6 separate regions of the Homo sapiens genome follow, and all the other regions are linked to region 3. The links are contacts of gene promoters, found by promoter capture Hi-C in blood cells and fetal thymus (Javierre and others, 2016). All regions are on one chromosome and are shown on one strand. The core of a region is centred on a gene start or on the middle of the fragment in contact, and the rest is flanking DNA. Distances in the headings are between cores, read along the strand shown.

Region 1 (3,572 bases), core at 164-2,663, about 25 Mb after region 3:
CCCTTCCCCCACTCTTCCCGGGTCTCTCCAGTCACCCCCTCGATCTCTTACTTTCCTCTTCCCTCCAATCTAGTGGGGCCCAGAAGGCACGCGGGGAATCGACTCTGAGAAAGAATGGGGGCAGCGCGCGGCTCACGAGGAACGAAGGGCGCGTGCGGCGCGCTGGGGGAGGGGGAGCGGGGGAAGAAGCGTGCGGTACCCGTCATCCTGCTGATTCTTGCTCGCGTTGATCTTGGATCCCTCTGCGAATTCCTCTATATTGCTGTACTCGTTCATATCCTCCATAGTGACGGAGCTGTCGGCAGGGGGGTGCTGGCGCGCAGTCCGGGTCGCGGCAGCAGCGGCGGCGGAGCGTTGTATGGAGCTGGATTTAAAATGGCGGCGGAAGAGATCCGGGCGCCGCCTGCGCCCTCCCTTTATAGCCGCCCCGCCCGCCAATCGGGAGGGCTGCTGGGCGGTGACGTGGCGCTGGGCCCGGCGCGCCCCCTGCCGGGCGGAGCTGGGAGCGAGCGAAGGGAGGAGCGGGGCTAGCTGCCGCGGCGGCCGCGGCCGCCAATGGGAGAGGCTGCGGGAGGCTAAAGTAGCGGGAGCGGAGGGGAACAATGGCGGCGGCACATGGGAAAGCCTGGGCGGGACCTCCATCGCGGCCCTCCCGGCAAGGAGAGAGGCCACGCGTGAGGGGACGCGGGCTTGGGAGAAGAGAAGAATCAGAAGAGAAAAACGAAGGGGCGTAAATTCCTGGGGTCAGCAGTCCCGAGCAGAGCCGACGCAGGGCCACAGTCCCTCTTGCCTTGGGAGCCTTTGTCTCTGGCGTCCGGTCCAGCCCACTCCTACCAAAAAGCCGTCAACCCCGCCTTTTTCTGCCCTCGGTTCGCCAGTGCGGAGCCGCTGCGGCGGCCGCTGCTACCGACTAGCACCGCGGCCAGTCTGCTCCGGAAAAAGGCGGACTGCGCCCGGCGCTGGCGACTGAGGCGGCGAGCGCGCTCGCCCGCCGCGCGCACGCGTGTTTTGTCCTCGAGCTGGCAGGAACCAGCCGAACAGGAAGCGGGCGCGCGACGGCTCCTCCGGGCAGCGCAGCGCGGGCGCCTCTTCCACTGTGACCACGGGCGCGCGGGCCAAGGGGGCGCGGCGGGGCCTCCCGGGCTGATCGGCCGAAGCCCGGGCCCCGCGCGGCCTCTGGCGGGCTGACGCCGGGAGGAGGGGCGGGGGCTGGCCAGATGACTGTATCTATGCAAAGGCGGAGGCGGTGGGCGGGGAGGGGGCTGGATTCAGTAGAGGGCAAGGGGCACTCACATCCCCGGCGCGCCACTCGCGGGGCTCCTTTCTGCACGTGCCCCGGGCCTCTCCCGCTCGCTCAACCTGTCTGCGGAGGGCGCGCTCTCGCGCACCCTGCTCCCGCGTTCGCTTCTTTGTTCCCGCCCACGCGAGGCCCATTTTGACGGATCCAGTTCGAGGCCTGACGGCGGCCAATCGGCGCTGGCGCCTTCACCCTCCCCGCCCCGCCGAACCCGTCAAGGGCCGCCCCTTTTCCTGCCCACGTGGTCTCGGGCTCCTGCCCCGTCCTGCTCACGAGTTCAGGGCTCCTGGGCGGCCGCCTTTTCCAGTTCCAGGTGTGCAGAAGTGTCCTCTCCCCACGCGCGGCGGGCTGCACTTGGTCGCTGGCTCCGAGATCGCGCGGGGCCGCCGGAAGCCCAAGACGGTACCGGGGGCCGCAGCCGCAGCCGGCGCCGCCCTCCGCCCTCCCCAACAGCAGGCCGAGTCCCGTAGCATCCGGTAGGGAAATGGTCGTGCTTTCGGTCCCCGCCGAAGTCACCGTGATCCTGTTAGATATCGAAGGTACCACAACCCCGATTGCTTTCGTGAAGGTGAGGGGCGGAAGGGAGCGGGGATGTTACTTTTCCTTAAAAACAGTTATTATTTTTTCTAAGTATTTCAGGCCTTGCATTGGAGACGAGGGTTAGGAGAGGCGGTGTGGCTGCCTCTTGTGTGGAATGGGGAGGAAGGAGAGAAAGCCTGCGGTGGGTTGCGGGGATGCTTTTCCTCGCGACACTAGCTTCTCCCTCCCCCGCCCTTGCGCTTGGTTGGATCCAGATGGGTGGGAAGGGATGGAAGTTGACGCTAAAAATCACCGAAGGGCAGGTAAGCCGGGGCGGGGTGTGACGGTGCGGGCCTCGCCACCCGGCAGGTGTGCACCCGGTCGCTTCCGCAGGTGAGCGCAGCCTTTCTGCTCCGTCGGGCCTGGTGTGGCAGCGGCAGCGATTTAATGGTCCTTAAAGCTTCCGATCTCAAAATGGAAAGACTGAAGTGTCAAGATGACTTTTCAGGTGGCCCTGGTGTCGGGCAATCAAGGTTCCTCTTCGCCCCTTCCCACTCTTGCTGTTAGTGGCCAAACTGCACAGTGTATTATTTTACTCTGTTAGGCGCTGTGGTCCATAGCGCTGATTTTTTGAGCTATAGGACACGTCTAGATTCCGTTCACTTTCCTCAGAAAACCACAGAAGCTTGAAGCTCTTATCCAGAGCATTCCTTCTAGGATGTCACTGTGAACCAGCACTTGTCTGCACCTCAGCTTGCAACTTAGCGGATTCCTTCTTTATTCTTTGTCTGTTAGAATAAGCAAATATGAAATGTTACTTTAATTTTTGAAAGAATTCCTCGGGCCTTGTCTTTTTATTTGGCTCCCTGAGGTTTAAGAATTCATTGCAGATACAAGTACTTCTTAGAGGTGCTTGCATGCACAATAATAGTCGAGATATACAAAGTATATTACCAAGTAGGAAAAATCCATCTTCCAAGAAACTGAGCAGCTTGGGTTTTAAATTCTATTTTAGTTTCCATTTTTAAAAAAAATTATCTGTGAATAAGGCTTTTTTTTTTTTTTCTTTGAGAGTCTCACTCTGTTCCCAGGCTGGAGTGGAGTGGAGTGGTGCAATCACAGCTCACTGCAGCCTCTACCTCCTTGGGCTTAAGGCATCCTCCTGCCCCAGCCTCTCGAGTAGTTGGGACTGAAGGGAGAGCCACCATGCCTGGCTAATTTTTGTATTTTTTGTAGAGACGGGGTTTCGCCATATTGCCCAGGCTAGTCTGGAATTCTTGGCCTCCCAAAGTGCTGAGATTACAGGCATGAGCCAAGGCGCCTGGCCTGAATGAGTTTCTTGATGTAGGTTATAATATAAAATCCATGTACACTTTTAGGACACCAAACATAACAACCTTTAAAATTCTTTTAGAAGAATCACAGTACCTTGACATCTTAGCATAGGTTCAGAAGAAATCGAGTTTAGCATTTTCTCCACGGTTTTTGTTTTTGTTTTGAGGCGGAGTCTCGCTCTGTTGCCCAGGCTGGAGTGCAGTGGTGTGAGCTCAGCTCACTGCAACCTCTGCCTCCCAGCTTCAAGCGATTCTTCTGTCGCAGCCTCTCCAGTAGCTGGGATTACAGACATGTGCCACCACACCCAGCTAATTTTTATATTTTTAGTAGAAGAGGGTTTCACCAGGCTGGTCTCAAACTCCTGACCTCAAGTGATTCACCCACCTCAGCCTCCCAAAGTGCTGGAATTACAGGCGTGAAC
Region 2 (3,901 bases), core at 131-2,630, about 72 Mb after region 3:
ATAACCCATGCAATGGTCCATACTCCTTAGCACAGAGAAGACAGGGCCCTTCACCATCCAGCCCCTTTCTACGCCTTCAACTGCACTTGCCATTTCCCTATATAAATATTCCAATTCAATTTACATCAATATTACACTCAAACCAGCCGTATTGCAAGTCTTTAACAAAGCATATTCCTAATCCCCTCAGTGTCACAAATATTGTTCTATTTGGGATGCCTAGAGTTTTTCATATAGTAAATTCATATTTGTACTGCACGTTTCAGCCCAATAGCACCTTCCTTGAACATATTTTAATAATAATCGTGTAATAGTTAATATTTGTTTAACACAATGTATCAGATACTATTCTAAATCCTTTACATATTTTAATATTCATTTAATCTTTCCAACAACCCTATGAGACTGTGGCAAAAGAGCCAGCAGTTGCTGTCACTTCAATATATTTTGGAATACATTTCCCTCCCCAAATTAAATTCTTGGAGGTAAAAACTGTCCTGTTTATCTTTGCAGCAGCTGTTCTTCCATAGTGTCTGGTACATAATAGAAACAGGAGTTCAATAAACATCTTTTTAATAAATGGCCAGAGAGCTGTGCCCCTAGATTTTAAATGCACACTTGGAAACTCCTGCTGGCCATTAGCCTTCTAATCTTCAGAGCACGAGAGGAGCATAACAAACATGTTTAGCGTCTAGTAGAATTCTGTGTAAGCTACAAGTACTACCACACGGTTCTGCTTAAATATACACACATCCTCACGTATAACATCAAGGTTTTTTTTTTCCTGCAACTAACTTCTTTAACTCTTTACCAATTTAAATGTACCCAACCAGCATTCAAAAAAGATTTGTCGGTCAACGACGACGATATTAAACATTGTATATGAAGTCTCAAAAAAACATGGAGCTTACTTTGCTCTCTCAGAAAGTCGATTTCTGCAGCCATTTCGATACAATTTTAGTTTAGAGCTTTCACCACCTTTACCTTCCTCTGAAAGACAGAGAGCTTGCTGTGCGGGAAAACAAAACTAAGCCAACGCTCGGTTGGTTGTCAAGCGCTCCAGCGGTGCAATCTGCATCCTACTCACGCGGCATCTACAGCCCCGCCACGCTTCTTTCCCCCGCGCCCCAGACGAGTCCCTGGCCCTGGTGAGAGACTGAAGATTGCTGGGGACTCCACGTTCAACCGAATCCCACGCTGGTGGGAAGAGGACGCGGTCGATACAGGCGTCCCGCGGGTCACTCTGGGTCTCGTCGGGCCACCTAGGAGAGTGCCGCGGGAGCTTGACGGCAGCCTGAGAGCGGCGTTCTACGCGGAGCGGCGGGGGTTGGAGAGGACAACGCCAAGACGGCTGGGAAGCCCCAGGCCAGCAGCGGAAGTCCACTCGGCCCGCCCTGCGACTTTGAAACCGGTGCCCCGGACCACTCCTTGGAGACGGTGGCGCCTCTTGCGTCATCACGCGGGCGTTGGAGCTTACGCCATCGCGCGTCCTAGAGTCCTAGCACGCTATTGGCTGGCTGTCAAGCAATGGGAGGAGTCGTGAGAACCTGGATGACAGCGGGCTGAGCCACCGGCTTGGCGCGGCGGCCAAACTGGTGGGACAGTGTCTCCAGGTAGTGAGGCCCAACCTCTTTAAAACAAACAAACAAACAAACAAAAAACCAAAATGCAAACGTGAGTAGAGAATGAAATACACAGTTTAAATGCCCTCACTATCTTTGGGTTACTAATATACTAAGCCTTTCTGGACTAAGTAAAAGATGCAGGTTCCTGCGGCTAGGGATAGAAGCCAGACTGGCGTCTTCAGAATCTCCCACCAAGGCTGTACCTCTGGAGGAGTTCTAGGTTTGGATTTGGTCATCTCAAGAAGGTAAGTACCTTCTCGGTCTTTGTGGGTCTTTAGACAAAGGAGACAACTGTTGTTTAAATATTTAACTGTGTAGTAATAAAGCGTGTAGTTAGAAGTACTCAAAAGATCTTGCAAATTCAGCAGCTACTTCTTCAAAGATAAGCTTGTTTCCTCAAATATAAGGAAAGATAAAAGGTACTTTTTTTTGCAAAAAACAAAACGGTAAAACTTACATTTGTGGATAGATTACAATTTTCATTTTTGAAAATTAATTTTGTCTGGACTTAAAACGTATTTTTTTAAAAAAAATCATTTAACATTAGAGGAAATCTCACCACTAGCAACAAAAATGTTAACTTGAAGCTAGCCACTAGTTTTGTGCTTTTAATAAATTGTATTTTTATGGACTGAAGTAAAGTTTCACTAAACAGGCATGTCATAGATGCAGCTTGATTTGGCTTTCTGTTTAACGGCTTAAGAGTTTTGTTGTCCCGTACTCATAATGTCATATAAACAAAGTAACCTTAGCGATATGTGTTAAGAAATTTTAAAAATGTATTCAAATATATGCAGTTAGGCATCTGAAGGCCTTACTCAATACTCACTGTTAATAGAATGAGATGGTCCCTTCCTCTAAAGACTAGCTGTTAAATATGGATGTGTAGCTTAATAATCATTGAAAAGGTCTAATCCAGCTTTGAGTTGGTGATAATTGAACTTGTTCTGATTTTTAGTAGCTATAACGTTTACACAAAAACTTTTTGTATAAACGTTATAGCTAAGGGAAAATTGAGTGTGCAAGGTCCAACTCGTTTTTGAAGTTCAGTATATGACTCTTTCTTCATAAACATCTCACTGACTCTCCAAGGACTTGCTTGTAACTTCTCCCACATTTGAACCTTGTATATTGTCGTATTTCTACTTGGCATCAAATAAATAATTATAGACTTAACTCTACGCTTACACCCAAACTGGATGGAAGCAAATACCTTCTGGCTATAACTGATGAGTGGTATTTACATAAAGTGAATATCTCAGGTGAAAACTTTTATGTCTGCACTCGAATTTTTTAGCTTACATGATCATAATTATGATCATGATAGTTTTTTGTTTTTGCGTTTGTGTTTGTGGTTACAAGATTTTAGTAGTTGAATTTTAATGGAGTATTTTCAACATAAGTTTCATCATTAGGAAACAAAATTGTGATGATTTCACTTATCCTTAAAGGATCCCCTCTCATGTTCCTCCTTTTCACATCTCCTGAGTTCTTTATCCACTTCTCCCAAGGTAGGTGCCACCTTAGTACTTACTTCATGCTCCTTCCTGCATTATCTGTCATGTTTTGTAGTTTGTCTCCAGGCTCCATCATAATACCTGGAACACAGAGTTGATTAAATATCTGATGGAAGGAATGAAAGAATTCAGTGGATGTTCATGAAAAGTATCTATTAGTATAAATTGAATACAAGGAATGACAAGCAGAAATGTATGTAGTTTGTGTGTAACTCTTGTCAAGCCACCATTTAATGTTTTTATATGACTTTTCTGCAATAAAGAAAACCCCTAAAGTTGTATAGATTGAAAATTAGTGACATTTCACTAACATTCATTTGGTTGATCAATTGACATTGAGCACCCAGTACTATGTGCAAAGTACCAGGAAGAATACAAAGTTAGAAGTTTAAGCAAGGATCAGAACAGATCACACAGCTGGCAAGTGCCTGAGTTGAGATTTGAACCCAGGCAGTATGGTTCTAATTTCACAATTGTTAACTGCTATGAACATGCCTCCCCAGGAATATAGTATAATATAGTTTATAGCTGGTATAATATAATTTATAGTTTTTGCTTATATGGCCAGTTAGCCTTTAGTTGTATTAAATGAAATATTTCTGTACATGTTATATTGTAATCTTAATGATTTACAGTTGATTTTCAAATTATTGCACAGTATTTATATTTCTGAATCACCCTTCCTTCTTCTAGGAAACCACTCATACTTTAGTGGAACGATTAGAAGTCTTCAGTTGTTCATGTGTGGCCCTTCAACAT
Region 3 (3,657 bases), core at 816-3,315:
AGGTCCACTTTGTTTCCCAGCACGATCAGCTGCTTGGGGCCCACCAGCGCGGGCAAGTCGGGCAGCAGGGCGTCGGGCAGGTCCAGCAGGTCCACCATGTAGAGCACCAGGGAGGGGCCGGGCCGCCGCAACGCGGCGCTCACCAGCTCCAGGTACTGCTCGCGGCTCACCTGCAGGCGTAGAGCGCGCCGGTGGTGCGACAGCAGCCAGCAGCGCTGGCACACGGTCCGTGCCAGCCCGCCGTCTGCCTCCGCCGTGCGGAGGAACTTCTCTCGGGGCAGGTAGCCGGGCACTCCGGCGTCCTGGCAGTGCAGCTCTGCCCCACAGCCCGAGCAGTTCACGCCGCTGGGCGGCAATGCCGGGTCCGGGTGCCCCACGACCGGGTGCTCCCGGGACCTGGCCCGTAGGTTTTGCTGTCGCCGCTCCTCCCGCCGCTGCTGCCTCTGTCGCTCCTCCTCCTCCTGCTGTTGCTGGAGCTCCTGCAGCTGCTTTTCGCGGGTGGGTTGCGGCTCCGGATCCAGGATGTACTCCGGGAACAGAAAACGCTCCTGCATGTCACCACCTTCTCCAAAGCCCTCCGTGTCCACGGGGTCATAAGGAAGCTCGCGTCCCAGACTCGATGAGTGCTGGAAGGAGGAGGCGGCAGCGCACCTCCTCTCCAGGAGCGGCTCCCGGAGGCCATGGCGCGCTGCCGTGGGAGCGGATCCACGAAGGAAAAGGCTCAGCAGCCTGAACGGTAGGCGAGCGGGCAGCATGAGGAAGTAGCTCCAAAGGGGCGGAGCCACCAGCGCGCACGCGCACTAGGGTCCGAGGCGCGCATTTGACCCGAGACGAAAGCGCGTGGGTACTTGGGAGCTGTCCTGGTTGGTTTTGCGTCTAATCCCGTCAGTTCTCGCGATTTAAGCTCTGAGACTGAGAACCTACTTAAAGCTATGGCAAAGGCACTGGAGGATTGAGCTAGGTGGGCAGAAAAGAGCAGTGAGTGTTTTGGGTTTTTTCACTTTCAGGCTTAACGCCTCACTGCTAGCACAAGCCGCCCTTAATAAATCACACTTAAAAAGGAGCTTCCGGGGTCGGGCGCGGTGGCTCACGCCTGTAATCCCAGCAATTTGGGAGGCCGAGGCGGGCGGATCATGAGGTCAGGAGATCGAGACCATCCTGGCTTACACGGTGAAACCCCCATCTCTGCTAAAAATACAAAAAATTAGCCAGGCGTGGTGGCGGGCGCCTGTAGTCCCAGCTACTCGGGAGGCTGAGGCAGGAGAATGGCTTGAACGCGGGAGGCGGAGGTTGCAGTGAGCCGAGATCGCGCCACTGCACTCCAGCCTGGGCGACAGAGCGAGCCTGTCTCAAAAAAACAAAACAAAACAAAAACAGAAAGGAGCTTCCGGCCGGGCGCGTGGCTCACGCCTGTAATCCCAGCACTTTGGGAGGCCGAGGCGGGTGGATCACCTGAGGTCAGCAGTTCGAGACCAGCCTGGCCAACGTGGTGAAACCCCGTCTCTACTAAAAATACAAAAATTACCCGGGCGTGGTGACCCTTGCCTGTAATCCCAGCTATTTGGGAGGCCGAGGCAGGAGAATCGCTTGAACCCGGGAGACGGAGGTTGCAGTGAGCCGAGATCGCTCCACTGCACTCCAGCCTGGGCGACAGAGCGAGACTCCATTTCAAAAAATAATAAATAAATAAAAATAAAAAATAGCTTCGTGTTTTGGTCCTTATAAAGGCAAATAAATTGAGCATCCCAATGTTGCGGATTCACAGGACGAACACTTTTTAATAATAAGTATACCTGGTTTTGTTTTCAGGTGTCGTTATTTGTGCAACAACATTGAAAAACAAGCAGAAATAAAACATTGACGGAACGGATACGACCGCAGATTGCGGGAGCTGTCCTCTCAATCAGCCCGGCAGCGGCGGCCCACAATTTACGCGTGTGCAACCCTAACCCCGGCCCAAGCTTGACCTACAATTTGCGCAGGCGCAGATCCTAACTTTGGCGTCCCTGTGGGCGGCCTTTGGTGTGAGACGCGTGGTATTCTGGGAACGTCGGAGACGGAAGTTACTTCGTCTTTAGCTCCTGGCGCTGCTGGCTTCTGGGCGGTTTTTGTCTTTTGATTTCAAGAGTTAGGAGCTCGAGAACCGTTTGGCAATATGTACGACGCGGATGAGGGTAGGTGAACGCTCAAAACACACGCCGTGGCGGTCCATTTAAGCAGGAAAGCGTTGGGAACTGATTGGATTGAGGATTTGGGGCCTTCCCATGCGCCGGCTGCACAGTCCCCAGCCTTGTTCCCACACTTACCAGGCCGGGAACGAAACTGGGGTAGGGAGAGGCGGAGGGTGCAGGGAACATAGTGTTAATGTTCCAGGTTACGTTCACTGCTGCTCTCTGCACTTTCTCGTTCCGTTAGATCTGATCCTCGTTTCCTGTGGTGAAGTAGCGTGCAGAATCGTAAGATAAATTACGTTTTGAATTTGAAGCAAAGGGCACCCTTTAAAAATTTTCCTTAAAGCCACAGTCGACTTAACGAATAGCTCAATTGTTGAGTGTCAGCCTGTGTCAGGCAGTGTGGAAGGTCCTGGAAATATTCCGGGACAGAGAATATCGGGGGGTGGGGGTGGCGGGGGGGACTCGGTTTAGTCTGACATTTCTTCATACTGTTTGTAAGTCAAAGTAAATTGTCTTAAAGGATGACTTTTAACTTCCTCTTCTCACAATGTCACAGTTCTCAGATGATATGTATTCTGCTGCACTGGGCCAATGTATAATACCTGTTTGTTTGCGCATATGGAATTCTTAGTAGTGGCCGAGCGCGGTGGCTCCCGTCAGCACTTTGGGAGGCCGAGATGTGCAGATCGCTTGAGACCAACCTGACAAACATGGGGAAATCCTGTATCTACTAAAAATACAAAAATTAGCCTAGTGTGATGGCGTGCGCCTGTAATCCCAGCTACTCGGGAGGCTGAGGCCGGACGATCGCTTGAGCCCAGGAGGCGGAGTTTGCAGTGAGCTGAGATCGCACCACTACACCACAGCCTGAGTGACAGAGTTAGACTGTCTCAAAAAAAAAAAAAAAAAATTCTTAGTTGAGTCTAGTGTATTTTCGTAGCCGCCTTTTCCATTCTCCATATCTGCTAATTCAAACCTTATTTTCTTATAGCTCTCAATTCCTTGGCCACCCCCTACATCTCCTCTCTCTATTCCCTCAGGTACTTCTGATAAATCAGATGGAAAAAATTGAAGCAAAAGCTTAATTTTTTTTTTTTTTTTTTAAGAGATGGGGTCTGGCCATGTTGCCCAGGCTGGTCTCAAACTCCTGAGGTCAAACCATCTGCCTGTCTCGGCCTCCCAAAGTGCTGGGATTACAAGCATGAGCCAATGTGCCCAGCCAAAAGCTTAAACTTTTAAAGCTGTTTAAACTTCTGTCTCATTTATATCTTGTGTTGTAGAAATTTATTAGCATCATTATATTCCTTGTTCTTTTTTAACTACTATCTCAGTAGAAGAAAAATTCGAAAAAAAAGATTTTTAAAGCATAATTTTTGGCTGGGTAATATATTCTCATAGCTCACAAGCCAGAAAATTTAAAAATGTTAAAGTGGGGTGGCTGGTGCAGTGGCTCACGCCTGTTATCCCAGCATTTTGGGAGTCT
Region 4 (3,399 bases), core at 191-2,690, about 32 Mb before region 3:
ACCACAATTGCCTAAGAAATTGTTGCTGTCCATGATTGCAAGTTCATGTAAAAAGAGTTCAAGTGTACTTTCATCCCAGCCATTCTCTGGACACTTGCCCTTAAAAAAAAAAAAAAACTTATGATTATATTTAATAAAACTACCGTTCTCTAGAATACTACAGGAATACAGTTTTTCTTTTTAACGTGTATTTTGCCACGCTGCTTGTTTTCTAAAATTCAAGCATAAATTCACCACTGTATAGAGACCGCAAAGAGGCAAAACGTTTGTACATTTGATTACAATTATTTACAGATTTCGAGAAGTGATGATAAATGCATACAATGAGGTTTACTGAGATATTTAAATTTCCGTAAGTGAAACTAACTGAAAACCAATACAACACATCCCCAGTGAAGATGCTTCAAACCAGGGCGTTACGACTGGGGCGGTGGGACGTGGAGAAGGGCGGTAGTTGTCAAACTTCAGTGAAATTTTGGCCACGCGCTGTAGCTCACTCACGCCTGTAATCCGAGCACTTTGGAAGGCCAAGAATGGCCGATCACTTGAAGTCAGGAGTTTGAGATCAGCCTGGCCAACATGGTGAAACCCCATCTCTACTAAAAATACAAACATTAACCGGGTGTGGTGGCGGGCGCCTGTAGTCCCAGCTACTCGGGAGGCTGAGGCAGGCGAATGGCGTGAACCCGGGAGGCGGAGGCTGCAGTGAGCCGAGATCGTCACACTGCATTCCAGCCTGGGCGAAAGAGCGAGACTCTGTTTCAAAAAAACAAAACACAACAAAACTTTTAATGAAATTAAAATACATGAACGCTGGCAGGAGGGAGACCTGTGAAGTTCCGCGGAAAGCTCGTGGTTCGAGTTAGCATACAGTCTACAAACACCATTATGTGTTCTGAGTCGTTGAGGGTTGGTGAAAGATGGAGGTGCGAACTTTGCCCTTTCCGCGAATAAAAAAGTACACTGGGACTTTCCCTCACTTCCGCATCCCGAAGTTAGAAACAGCGGGACTCAAAACCCCGACCCCAACACCCCCTCCTAACAACACCATTTGGCTTTCACTGGCTTTGGCAAGGCTGAGAAGGCACAGACCGCAGTCGGTCAGCTAGGGCAAGCCAAGCTGAGACAGACTTGGGACTAGTCTCAAGCAGCGAAGAGCTGCCGGTGAGGCAGCACCAGCGGGGACGCCCGGCGGAGCCAGAGCCCCGGGGTCGCGGCGGCTGGGGAGGGGACCGACAGCTCGGTACCTTCTCCAGAAGCAGCCGTATGAGGTGCTCATGCGAGCGGCGGGCCTCACAGCCCTGCCGCACGTAAGCCGGCGACACCAGCCGCTCTCCCGCCGCGAAGCTCTCGCGGTTCATGACAGCGGTGGCGACAGTGGCGAATAAGCGGGAGCACTAGCTCCACACGCCAGACACACGACGGAACCAGAATGCAACTCGCCGCCTGGACGGTACGGCAGCGCCTTGGGACAAAAAACAAAACAAAACAAAACAAAACAAAAAAAACACTTCTCGTTCGTGCACATGCGCAGACCTTCTCAGATGGCGCTCCAGGAGGAAGTTGGCGTATTTGAGCATGCGCGAGGGAGTCCGCGCTTTTCGCTGACTTTTGGCAAAGGAAGGACTGAAATTAGCCCCGCCCCGCTGCGGCTGATTCGTCTAGTTAAACCCTGGTGTTCCTGACACAAACTTCAGGAAAGGATTTTGCACTTGTGCAGACCGGGCGAGCAGAGTAAGAAGCAGGTACGTGGGTTTTTCCAAGTTCTGTGTTTCAGTCCTGTTGGATGGTTGAGATCTGTGCAGGGTCTGTGCTTCCGCCTTATTCAAACTGTCAGATGCCAGAACCTTCGATCTTTACTTTGATACATTTCCACACTTATTACTGCCTCACAACCCCATAGGAAATAGCAGTGCCCCACTCATTTTCCCCTTGACACTACTGTTTAGCCATAGCACTTACTACTCACCACGTGACATGCCAGACGTTTGTTTATACACACACACACACACACCCATACCCATGAATGTAAACTCTCTAACCTAACGGCAGGACCTCGGTTTTTGCTGCGGTGCCCCCTTCCCCCGGGCACCTAAAACAGTGCCCAGAATAAAGTAGGGCCTAAAAAAAAAGTTGATATTGAATTAATGAATTAGTTTGACCATTCTGAAACTATCCCCAAGAACATTTTGTAAAATTGATTAAGGAGGGGAAAAAAATCCAACTAGGCTTACAGCTGCTGTTATTAAGCCAGCTTGCAGTGTGGCCGACTTTCTTGTAGCTGGTTGCTACTTACTACCCCAGGAGAATGTGGCCCTTGTCACAAGACTCTTCATTCTTTTTCTGCTCTGAAGATAAAATCTAAGACATTATGAGAAGATAAGCTTTCTGTTTGCATTGCTTCTTTAGGTCCCGCATACCAACAAAACTAAGGACGCCAACTTGTCTGGAAGGCCCAATAAAAAGCTGATTCATGGAGGAATGCAATTGTCACATCCTAATGATTTCATCTCCCTTACCCCAACGAATCGATAACCCCAAATTTTCCAGCCCCTCACCCTCCACAAATCCCCTTAAAAAACTTTGCCTAGAACCCCTTGATGAAATGGATTGAAGCTTGAGAACTCTTCCTGTTTCCTGGCTTGTAACTTGTGATTATTAAAACTTTCTCTGCTGCAAGCCTGCTGTCGGAATACTGGTCTGTTTCTGCACAGCCGGCATAGGAACCTGGCAGTGCTGTAACAGTTCAACAACTTAGAGGTTCACTGCTGGAGATCCCTGCCTCCAGTTTCCTTACAATCTTCATCTTATGTGAGCCTACAGTAATTCCTGACATTGCTTTCACCTGGTGGTTTGTCCATTTGCACTGAGTCACACCCACTTGCAAGAGCTGATTGTTAAATGTTCAGTAATTTTGTGAGCTAGTTTTCAAATACAGCCACTCAAAAATTATATTACAAGCAAAAGTAAAAATACTCAAAATTTGTCACTTCCTAATTATTTTACATTTTACTATTATCTATGCTCTTCAGGTTATTTACATGCATTTTATCTATATGGTGGAAATTCAATGTAATGTTATACTACTGCACATCTTCCAACTCCTCTTTTGATGATGTCACGTTGGCCATGGTGGGAGCATTTACACCATGGAAATCAGTAAACACCGCTAATCAGGCCCTTACACTCCAACCCACTCCCCTAGAAGTCAGTTGTTCAACATGTACCAGCTCATCACTGTTTCTACTGCATGTTCCCATGGCATCCAGCTATTAATATAAATCAGTCTATTTATGGTATTTGTTGAATTGCATTTCAATTGTTAATTTTCTGTCTCAACTAGACTGTGAACTCCTGGTTCACAAGGGCTATACCAATATCTGTGTTCAAAGCACAGCA
Region 5 (3,370 bases), core at 420-2,919, about 130 Mb after region 3:
TTTCAGAGTTAAAAAAAAAAAAAAAAAAAAAGGCCTTTGGTTTGCATTAAAGAAACCAATCTTAGCCTGAATTGACCAGAGGTGACCAAAATTATTTAAAACACATAGGTATAAGAATGTGGGCTCTGGAGTCAAACTGACTTCAAATTCCTGATTTACCTGCTAATAATTACATGACAAGTTAATGGATCTCCCTAAGCCTCAATTTCCTCTTCTGTAAAATGCAGATAATACCTATGAGCGTTAGTCTTGAGGCACAAGTGCTCAATTAATGTCAATTTGTAATATAATAAACTGGAATAGACGTTAGTGGTTAATACTTTCTCATTTGTCGGCCTTTCTCTATTTCACATCACAGCTGCATGTGTATCACACACTGCCCCCAGACTGAACTACATATAGTGCTCTCAATACTGGAAGATATTTTACACTTCTTAGAAATACTCTTCCCTTCCTGGACTCCTTAGCAAACTCTTACTACTCAAGATTCAGCCCACACATCTCTCATCTATTCGGTCACTTACTCATCATCCAACGTTTTTTTTAACACTCGCTGTAAATGGCATCCTCGTTCTGGAAACGCATCTACCAGCAATTAAAACATGTAGAATTAGCACTGCTTAGGAGAACGCCTATAAAATATGCATCTTAGATCATCTTCCGTTTTAGAAAATTGATCCCACCTGCTACACGCCTGGTGAAACTCCAGTTACTTGCCAGTAAGATATTGTCCCCCAAATGTACTTATCCTGTTTTTGTGCATTATAAGCTTTGTTCAGTTTATAGTTTCTAGGCCCATTACTAAAGTCAAGTCAGATATCCAGCTGAGATACAACTTTTTTTTCTGAAAACAATGTGAGCAATGGACAGGTACGCTGTGATTAAAGGGAGAAAAGCTGTAACGACTCCCCAAATTTCCTTTCCTTATGAAATTTACGTATGTAACAGGAAGTTAAAAAATAACTACCACTTAATGCATACTGAACAGAATCTTGTTTCAAAGAAAAGATATGAAATATGGAGGCACTTTCACCACACAAATATCCCACTACATATGCTAACTGCAGTATTTATGTTCAAAACTGTAAGAACGTGTCTGATACCCTTTATTAGTTAGGAATTCCTGAAAATGAACTTCTGTGCAAACCTGAAGCTTCAACACGTGTTTTAAAAAGCAGTGCTTATTGAATTGATAAACAAAAGCGAAACTGGCAATATCAACGTGTGCTCACCTCACAAATCTGACAACAGTATCTCTACACTGCCGTTCTTTAAACATCATTAAAAGATATTGTGAATAGTTTAAATATTAAAAATGTGGAATATAAGAACGATTCTATATATTTGAACACACATTTATATTCAAATATTCATATGAATAAAAATGCTTAAAACTACCCCTTGGGTAACTAAGTATAACAACATAAACTTGCGATTGCAAATTTTATGGCTCTTACTACAAAACAAAAAGTAGAATGAAAAGACCACTTATCTTTAGAGGACAAGCATGAACTTGTTTTCTAACAGCATAACAATAAACGTATTTATTTCTCCGAGCTTTCAAAGGCATCAACAGAAGGGAATCACTAAAAATGTAGGGGAAAAGAAACACTCGGCTGGAGCTTTGGTTTCTAAGCAGATCCTTCTGGAAAGACGCTTAGGGAGAGTCTAGGGAGCAGCTCTGACGTCAGTAGCTGCCATCGGAAGTCAGGTCATGTTCTACAAAAAGCAGTGACGCACGCCCGACAGCACCCGCGGGGCCGGACAGCGGCTTCACCAGCCCCGCGGGTCCGAATCGCACGCGGCCGGGTCCGCTCTCCCGGGAGGAGAGCCCGGCGTGGACCAGCGTGACGACCCCAGCGTGCTGCGGCCTCTCCCCGAGGGCCCCTCCACAAGGGTCCCTGCGCGGGCCGGGCTCGGCCGTTGCCACTCGGGACAGCCATCCCCTCGAGTTCGCGCTCGCCGTCCCCGCCTTCACCTCCCGGGTTGGGAGGCGGGCGACTGCGCGCGAGGTAAAGGAACTTGCGTTCCCCGGCGCCGAGGCGGCAGCAGCGCAGTGCACAGCGGCTTCTGAAGGCGGCGTCGACGGGGAGCTGCGCGTGGCTCCCAGTTTCCTGGTTACGTGCGCGCCGGCAGAGCCAAAACCTGCAGCCGAAACTCCCGCTTCTCCGTAAGGATTAAAGGGCGGGCGCACTACCGGGAGACGTGTCAAACTCAGCGCGCCTCATGGCGGCCGCGGAGCCCCACCCGCTCCTACTCCAGTCCTCTCACGCCCACTGACTTACCCTGCGCACGCGCGCTGAGGCTCCGTGGGGCCGCCGCGGGCCCCGCCCCGAGGTGGGAGGGCCTGACGCATCCACAGCTGGCCAATCGGCGGATGGCCTCGCGCGCCCGCCCCCTCCCCCTGCCCCCGGCGCCGGGCTCCACGTGCCAGTGTTTGTGTACGTGCGGCCGTGGCGGGGCTGGACAGGGTCCGGGTCGTTGAGGATTAGGCTGCTCGGGCGTAACCGGAGCTGGGGCGCGGCTGCCAAGGGCCGGCCCGGAAGTCCCAGCGGTCTTTAAATTCTCCCGTGCTAGGGCCAGCCTGCGCATTCTTACCTGTCGGGGTGCGGCGAGTGTCTCACCTCTCTGCACTTCCAAGGACTCTTGTCATCTGCCTTAGGCGGGAAATGCTGTTGCTGGATTGCAACCCCGAGGTGAGATTCGGGCTCACAGAGCCCGAGCTTTTGTCCTGCAGGCTCAAGCTTCTAGATTCGTCTTCTCGTTAATGCGGGGACGGACCACTGGGCGCTGCCTGGTCAGAGCTGGTTGTGAAGGGCGGGGAGGTTTCCAGCCCGGAGGGGCGCGGGACTGGACAAAGGTGGGAAGGGTGCTGGATCTGTTCTCTTCCTGCAGGTGGATGGTCTGAAGCATTTGCTGGAGACAGGGGCCTCGGTCAACGCACCCCCGGATCCCTGCAAGCAGTCGCCTGTCCACTTAGCCGCAGGAAGCGGCCTTGCTTGCTTTCTTCTCTGGCAGCTGCAAACGGGCGCTGACCTCAACCAGCAGGTAACTAGGTAACTGTTGCTGTGTACAGCCGTCCCCTCCAACCCAGACACACACAAACATTTCTCAGACGCCAAGAGTTGTTTCAGCTGTTAAAAACATGTCTATAGCAGCGATGTCCAACAGAAATATAATGCAAGACACAGATGTAATTTAAGAGTTTTTTTCCAGTCTTGATGTGAGGACATGAGAAATTTGAAGTTTTTAAGTAGCCACATTAATAAACGAAACATGAAATTTTAGTATTTGACCCAATTTGTCCAAAATGTTATCAGTTCAATATGTAATCAAAGCAATTGCTGATTAGATATTTTACACTTTCTTT
Region 6 (3,604 bases), core at 886-3,385, about 32 Mb before region 3:
AGAGTGAAACTCCATCTCAAAAAAAGAAAAAAAATAAGTATAACAGAAAGTCAATGGTGGAATGAAAATGAAATAATCAGAATTATTGAATTAATCCAAACGAAGGCAGGAAAGGAGGAACAGAGGAACCGAAAAGGTTAAAGCAAATAAAACCCAAATTGCAAAATAATAGATCTAAATCCAACCACATCATTATTACATTAAATGTAAATGGACCCCAAACTCCAATTAAAAGGCATTTACAGGCCAGGTGCAGTACCTCACACCTGTAATCCCAGCACTTTGGGAGGCCGAGGCGGGTGGATCATCTGAGGTCAGGAGTTCGAGACCAGCCTGGCCAATGTGGTGAAACCCTATCTCTACTAAAAAATACAAAAATTAGCCGTGCATGGTGGCAGGCACCTGTAATTACAGCTATTCTTTCTTTAAAGCGGAGAAGGCATCAGGGAAGAGGGTTGTAGGTGGTGAAGCAAATGGTTACATTTTTGCTAGACTTTAGGTAGTGCCCAGTAACTCTATGCTATGCATAAGATAAGGTGAATATTCAAAGAAAATGGAGTAAAGGAAGTTAATTATACAGATATCTCAGGTGAAGGAATGATTGATCTTATCCTTGTTCTGCATCTGGGAAGATAAGCTTGTAACTGAATTTATCCATGTGAAATTTAACAGACTTTAGTTGTACCAGTTTGATTTAGGTTGCAGACTTAAAGTTATACAATTGACACGTCCTTGTTTTATGGAAGGATATACATCTTGAAAGGTTTAAGGGCCAGTAAAGAATTTACTATGATTAATTTGTTGAGGACAGTCATCCTGAGACTGAGATGCATAAGGCTTTTTTTTGCATTTTGAGGAGGGTCTGGCTAACATATAAAGTTTTAATACAACTATGGGAAGTAACAGCTATCCATTTGGGAAAAGCATTGTAGTGTTGAGTGACTTCAGTCTCCAGGCTTAACTCTCCCTTTGACATAACAAGTTGGGGGTGGGGGGTGGTTCTGAGATTTTTATTTTCCTTTACAGGGTCAAAGAGGAAATCATAAAGGAAATTAAAAACTATTTTCAGCTGAAGGAAAACAAAAGCACAGTAGCAGGCCAGGCAAGGTGGCTTATGCTTGTAATCCCAGAATTTTGGGATGCTGAAGCAGGACGACTGCTTGAGACCAGGAGCTCAAGACCAATCTGGGCAACAGTGAGATCCCATCTCTACAAAAAATTTAAATTTAAAAATTAACAGGATGTGGTCGTGCACACCTGCAGTTCCAGCTACTGTGTCTTCTACAGTTTAAAGCTGAGAAGATCCCTTGAGCTTAGGAGGTTGAGACTGCAGTGAGCTATGATTGTGTCACTGCACTCCAGCCTGGATAACAAAGTGAGACCCTGTCTCAAAAATAACAACCACCAAGAAAAAAAAAAAGGAGAATTCAGCTAAAGCAGTGCTTAGAGGGCAATTTATAGCCTTAAAATACTAGCATTGGAAAAGCAGAAAGATCCAGAATCAATCATCTTCTACTCTAAGCAACTAGAAAAAGAAGAGGAAATCAAAACTCAAGTGAGCAATAAAGAGCAAAATAAGGCAATGGACCAGAAAACAGAAAATCAATGGAACCAAAACATGACATTTTGAAAAGATTTAAAAATTGATAAACTTCTAGCTAGATTAGTCAGAAAAAGAAAACATACAAACTGCCACTATCAAGAATATCTGAACAAAGACAAGGTCCCTGCCCTCCTGGACGTCTACTGGAGGAAAGAAATGTCATACAATTAAATCTATAGTTACAGATTATGGTAAACTCTGAGAGAGAATTCTGTCAGGGAGAAGCCGCTTTTGGTTGCAGGAGGGCACCTCTTTGAAAATTACTCACCTTCCCGCCCTCCACTGGGAGTAAAGCGAGCTGTGCCCAGCTTCTCCCCGCGCTCACGGAAGCAGGTGGCGGCCCCACCCCACCTGACCCCTCAAAAGCCCCGCCCCCTGTTCACTCCCACGTGCCCCGCTGCCGCCGCCGCCGCCGCCACGACCCTTCTGCGCAGGCGCGGGGGTGGTGCCTGGCGGAGGCGCGAGGTGGGGCGCGGCCGGCGGCGAGGCGGGACAACCGCTGGGCGGGCGCCAAGCGTGCCCGTGCGCTGGTGAGGTGGCGTCCGTTCTACCCGGTCGCTCCCGTTCCGCGCCATGCAGAGCCCAGTCTCTGGCACCTGGCTGCTCTGATCTGGTCTCAGCGCGGAGGGAGCAGAGGGAGTCCATGGAGGATCCCTCCGAGCCCGACCGGTTGGCGTCCGCGGACGGCGGGAGCCCGGAGGAGGAGGAGGATGGGGAGCGGGAGCCGCTGCTACCGCGGATCGCCTGGGCCCACCCGCGGAGAGGCGCCCCAGGCAGCGCCGTGAGGCTGCTGGACGCTGCCGGGGAGGAGGGCGAGGCCGGCGACGAGGAGCTGCCCCTCCCGCCCGGGGACGTGGGGGTCTCCCGGAGTTCGTCCGCCGAGCTGGACCGGAGCCGCCCCGCGGTTTCAGGTGCGACCCGGCCCTGCCCCACTCCCCGCGCCCCTCCGGGCGGCTGCCCCTGTCGCCCGGCTCGGTCCTGTCTCCCGCGCGCGCTGGCCGAGGTGGACGGGCTTTCCCCGCTCGCTGGGCAGCAGCTCCCGAGCTCGGACCGGCGCCAGCCGCAGCCGCACCGCGGGCACCTAGCTTGCTCGCTCTTTCTCCGGGAGCTCCCTCTCCTAAGGCCAGTGGTTGTCATTAAACCGATTCTTTAGACCTCCCCGCAAAGTGAGTCAAAACTTCTAGAAACCGACACTGGGGAGAGGTTAACGCTGTAAAATGACGTAAGTCCTTGCTCAAGTTTGGACTTGACTTTTGAATTAAGAACCTTGAACTCTCAGGAAAGTTCCCGGAGTGGTGAATTTGCAAAGTGGATGACAGGAGAGAGATGGACAGCCAGAATATCCAGTTGCCACTGGGGCACGTTTCAAAACCTTTTTCTATTAAATGTTGTTATTATGAAGTTAGCCACAGGGGGCAAAAGCAGTTGAAAGTCTGTTCCTGCCCTCTTACAGTTTAGTTTCTCTTTCTTGATTTACTTCTAATACATAAGAAAACCAAAACGAAAAACCTCTTTTCGCTATTAAGCGGACTGATAACCTCAGGCGAAACAGGGCAGTTGAAATGATGTTGAAGGTTAAATTTAGGTATGCTGTGCAGGCCTGGATATTTATTAATAAAGTGAGTTTTTCTGGCGTGTTGAATGGAGTTAGACAAATGTGATGGAAATAGCAAGAGACTTGTAAGACTCTCAGCTAGAGGTGAGACAGACTTGTTTGTAAAAAGGCGATGGTACACCTCCCTGCTGGTTGTGAGGATGGATTAAATGAGATGTTGTGCACCCGGTTGGTTTATCGCTTCACACATGACAACTTAAAAACCACAGAAAATGGAAGTTTCTTTAACACTGCTTAGTTTTTTTTGGAATTGTTAGATTTTAAATGTACTGTTAGTGGTACACTAATGTGTCCTTTACAGTTTAAAGAATTTTGGATAGAATCGGTCACTCAAGTTCTAGCTAGAGGCTACATTCAGGCATATTCTAGAGTAAATAAATCAGAGA

The links. Contacts are between HindIII fragments. The CHiCAGO score rates a contact against its expected background, and 5 or more counts as called.
Region 1: a contact is called between the fragment with the promoter of HNRNPDL here and the fragment with the promoter of POLR2B in region 3, in 1 of 17 cell types (fetal thymus). The highest score is 10.3, in fetal thymus.
Region 2: the fragment with the promoter of SCLT1 here is called in contact with the fragment with the promoter of POLR2B in region 3 in 2 of 17 cell types (total CD4 T cells and total B cells); the score reaches 7.5 in total CD4 T cells.
Region 4: a contact is called between the fragment with the promoter of SEPSECS here and the fragment with the promoter of POLR2B in region 3, in 3 of 17 cell types (non-activated CD4 T cells, total CD8 T cells and fetal thymus). The highest score is 7.7, in non-activated CD4 T cells.
Region 5: a contact is called between the fragment with the promoter of LRP2BP here and the fragment with the promoter of POLR2B in region 3, in 1 of 17 cell types (non-activated CD4 T cells). The highest score is 8.2, in non-activated CD4 T cells.
Region 6: a fragment that was not itself captured here is called in contact with the fragment with the promoter of POLR2B in region 3 in 2 of 17 cell types (total B cells and non-activated CD4 T cells); the score reaches 12.9 in total B cells.

The regions. Positions count from the first base shown.
Region 1 is chr4:82,429,049-82,432,620 of GRCh38, forward strand. HNRNPDL (heterogeneous nuclear ribonucleoprotein D like) reads right to left here and starts at 1,414. Exons shown (of 8, transcript NM_031372.4): 1 at 200-1,414. The coding sequence starts at 642. It overlaps ENOPH1 (enolase-phosphatase 1), which reads left to right and starts at 1,542. Exons shown (of 6, transcript NM_021204.5): 1 at 1,542-1,865. The coding sequence starts at 1,782. RefSeq lists silencers at 1-32, 343-582, 953-1,352, 1,473-1,792 and enhancers at 78-873, 253-312, 633-722, 874-1,669, 2,033-2,132. The HindIII fragment of the contact is 3,206 bases long and covers 1-2,274 here.
Region 2 is chr4:129,092,159-129,096,059 of GRCh38, forward strand. It overlaps SCLT1 (sodium channel and clathrin linker 1), which reads right to left and starts at 1,381. Exons shown (of 21, transcript NM_144643.4): 1 at 912-1,381. The coding sequence starts at 945. It also overlaps a transcript of C4orf33 not described here. RefSeq lists an enhancer at 1,076-1,645. The HindIII fragment of the contact is 3,346 bases long and covers 1-2,010 here.
Region 3 is chr4:56,976,831-56,980,487 of GRCh38, forward strand. It overlaps POLR2B (RNA polymerase II subunit B), which reads left to right and starts at 2,066. Exons shown (of 25, transcript NM_000938.3): 1 at 2,066-2,174. The coding sequence starts at 2,156. NOA1 (nitric oxide associated 1) reads right to left here and starts at 776. Exons shown (of 7, transcript NM_032313.4): 1 at 1-776. The coding sequence starts at 755. RefSeq lists enhancers at 9-68, 449-518, 2,340-2,439 and a silencer at 269-348. The HindIII fragment of the contact is 1,293 bases long and covers 1,960-3,252 here.
Region 4 is chr4:25,159,009-25,162,407 of GRCh38, forward strand. It overlaps SEPSECS (Sep (O-phosphoserine) tRNA:Sec (selenocysteine) tRNA synthase), which reads right to left and starts at 1,441. Exons shown (of 11, transcript NM_016955.4): 1 at 1,248-1,441; 2 at 1-99. The coding sequence starts at 1,361. SEPSECS-DT (SEPSECS divergent transcript) reads left to right here and starts at 1,664. Exons shown (of 2, transcript NR_037934.1): 1 at 1,664-1,745. RefSeq lists a silencer at 1,125-1,294 and an enhancer at 1,405-1,704. The HindIII fragment of the contact is 2,962 bases long and covers 1-2,382 here.
Region 5 is chr4:185,394,255-185,397,624 of GRCh38, forward strand. It overlaps LRP2BP (LRP2 binding protein), which reads right to left and starts at 1,670. Exons shown (of 9, transcript NM_001377440.1): 1 at 525-1,670. ANKRD37 (ankyrin repeat domain 37) reads left to right here and starts at 2,587. Exons shown (of 5, transcript NM_181726.4): 1 at 2,587-2,696; 2 at 2,896-3,048. The coding sequence starts at 2,670. RefSeq lists silencers at 1,793-1,982, 2,203-2,572 and an enhancer at 2,103-2,172. The HindIII fragment of the contact is 1,591 bases long and covers 1,152-2,742 here.
Region 6 is chr4:25,231,918-25,235,521 of GRCh38, forward strand. PI4K2B (phosphatidylinositol 4-kinase type 2 beta) reads left to right here and starts at 2,116. Exons shown (of 10, transcript NM_018323.4): 1 at 2,116-2,514. The coding sequence starts at 2,247. It overlaps LOC105374535 (a long non-coding RNA gene), which reads right to left and starts at 1,948. Exons shown (of 4, transcript XR_925490.3): 1 at 1,872-1,948. RefSeq lists silencers at 1,906-2,215, 2,316-2,555, 2,596-2,655 and enhancers at 1,942-2,443, 2,444-2,943, 2,876-3,005. The HindIII fragment of the contact is 3,001 bases long and covers 636-3,604 here.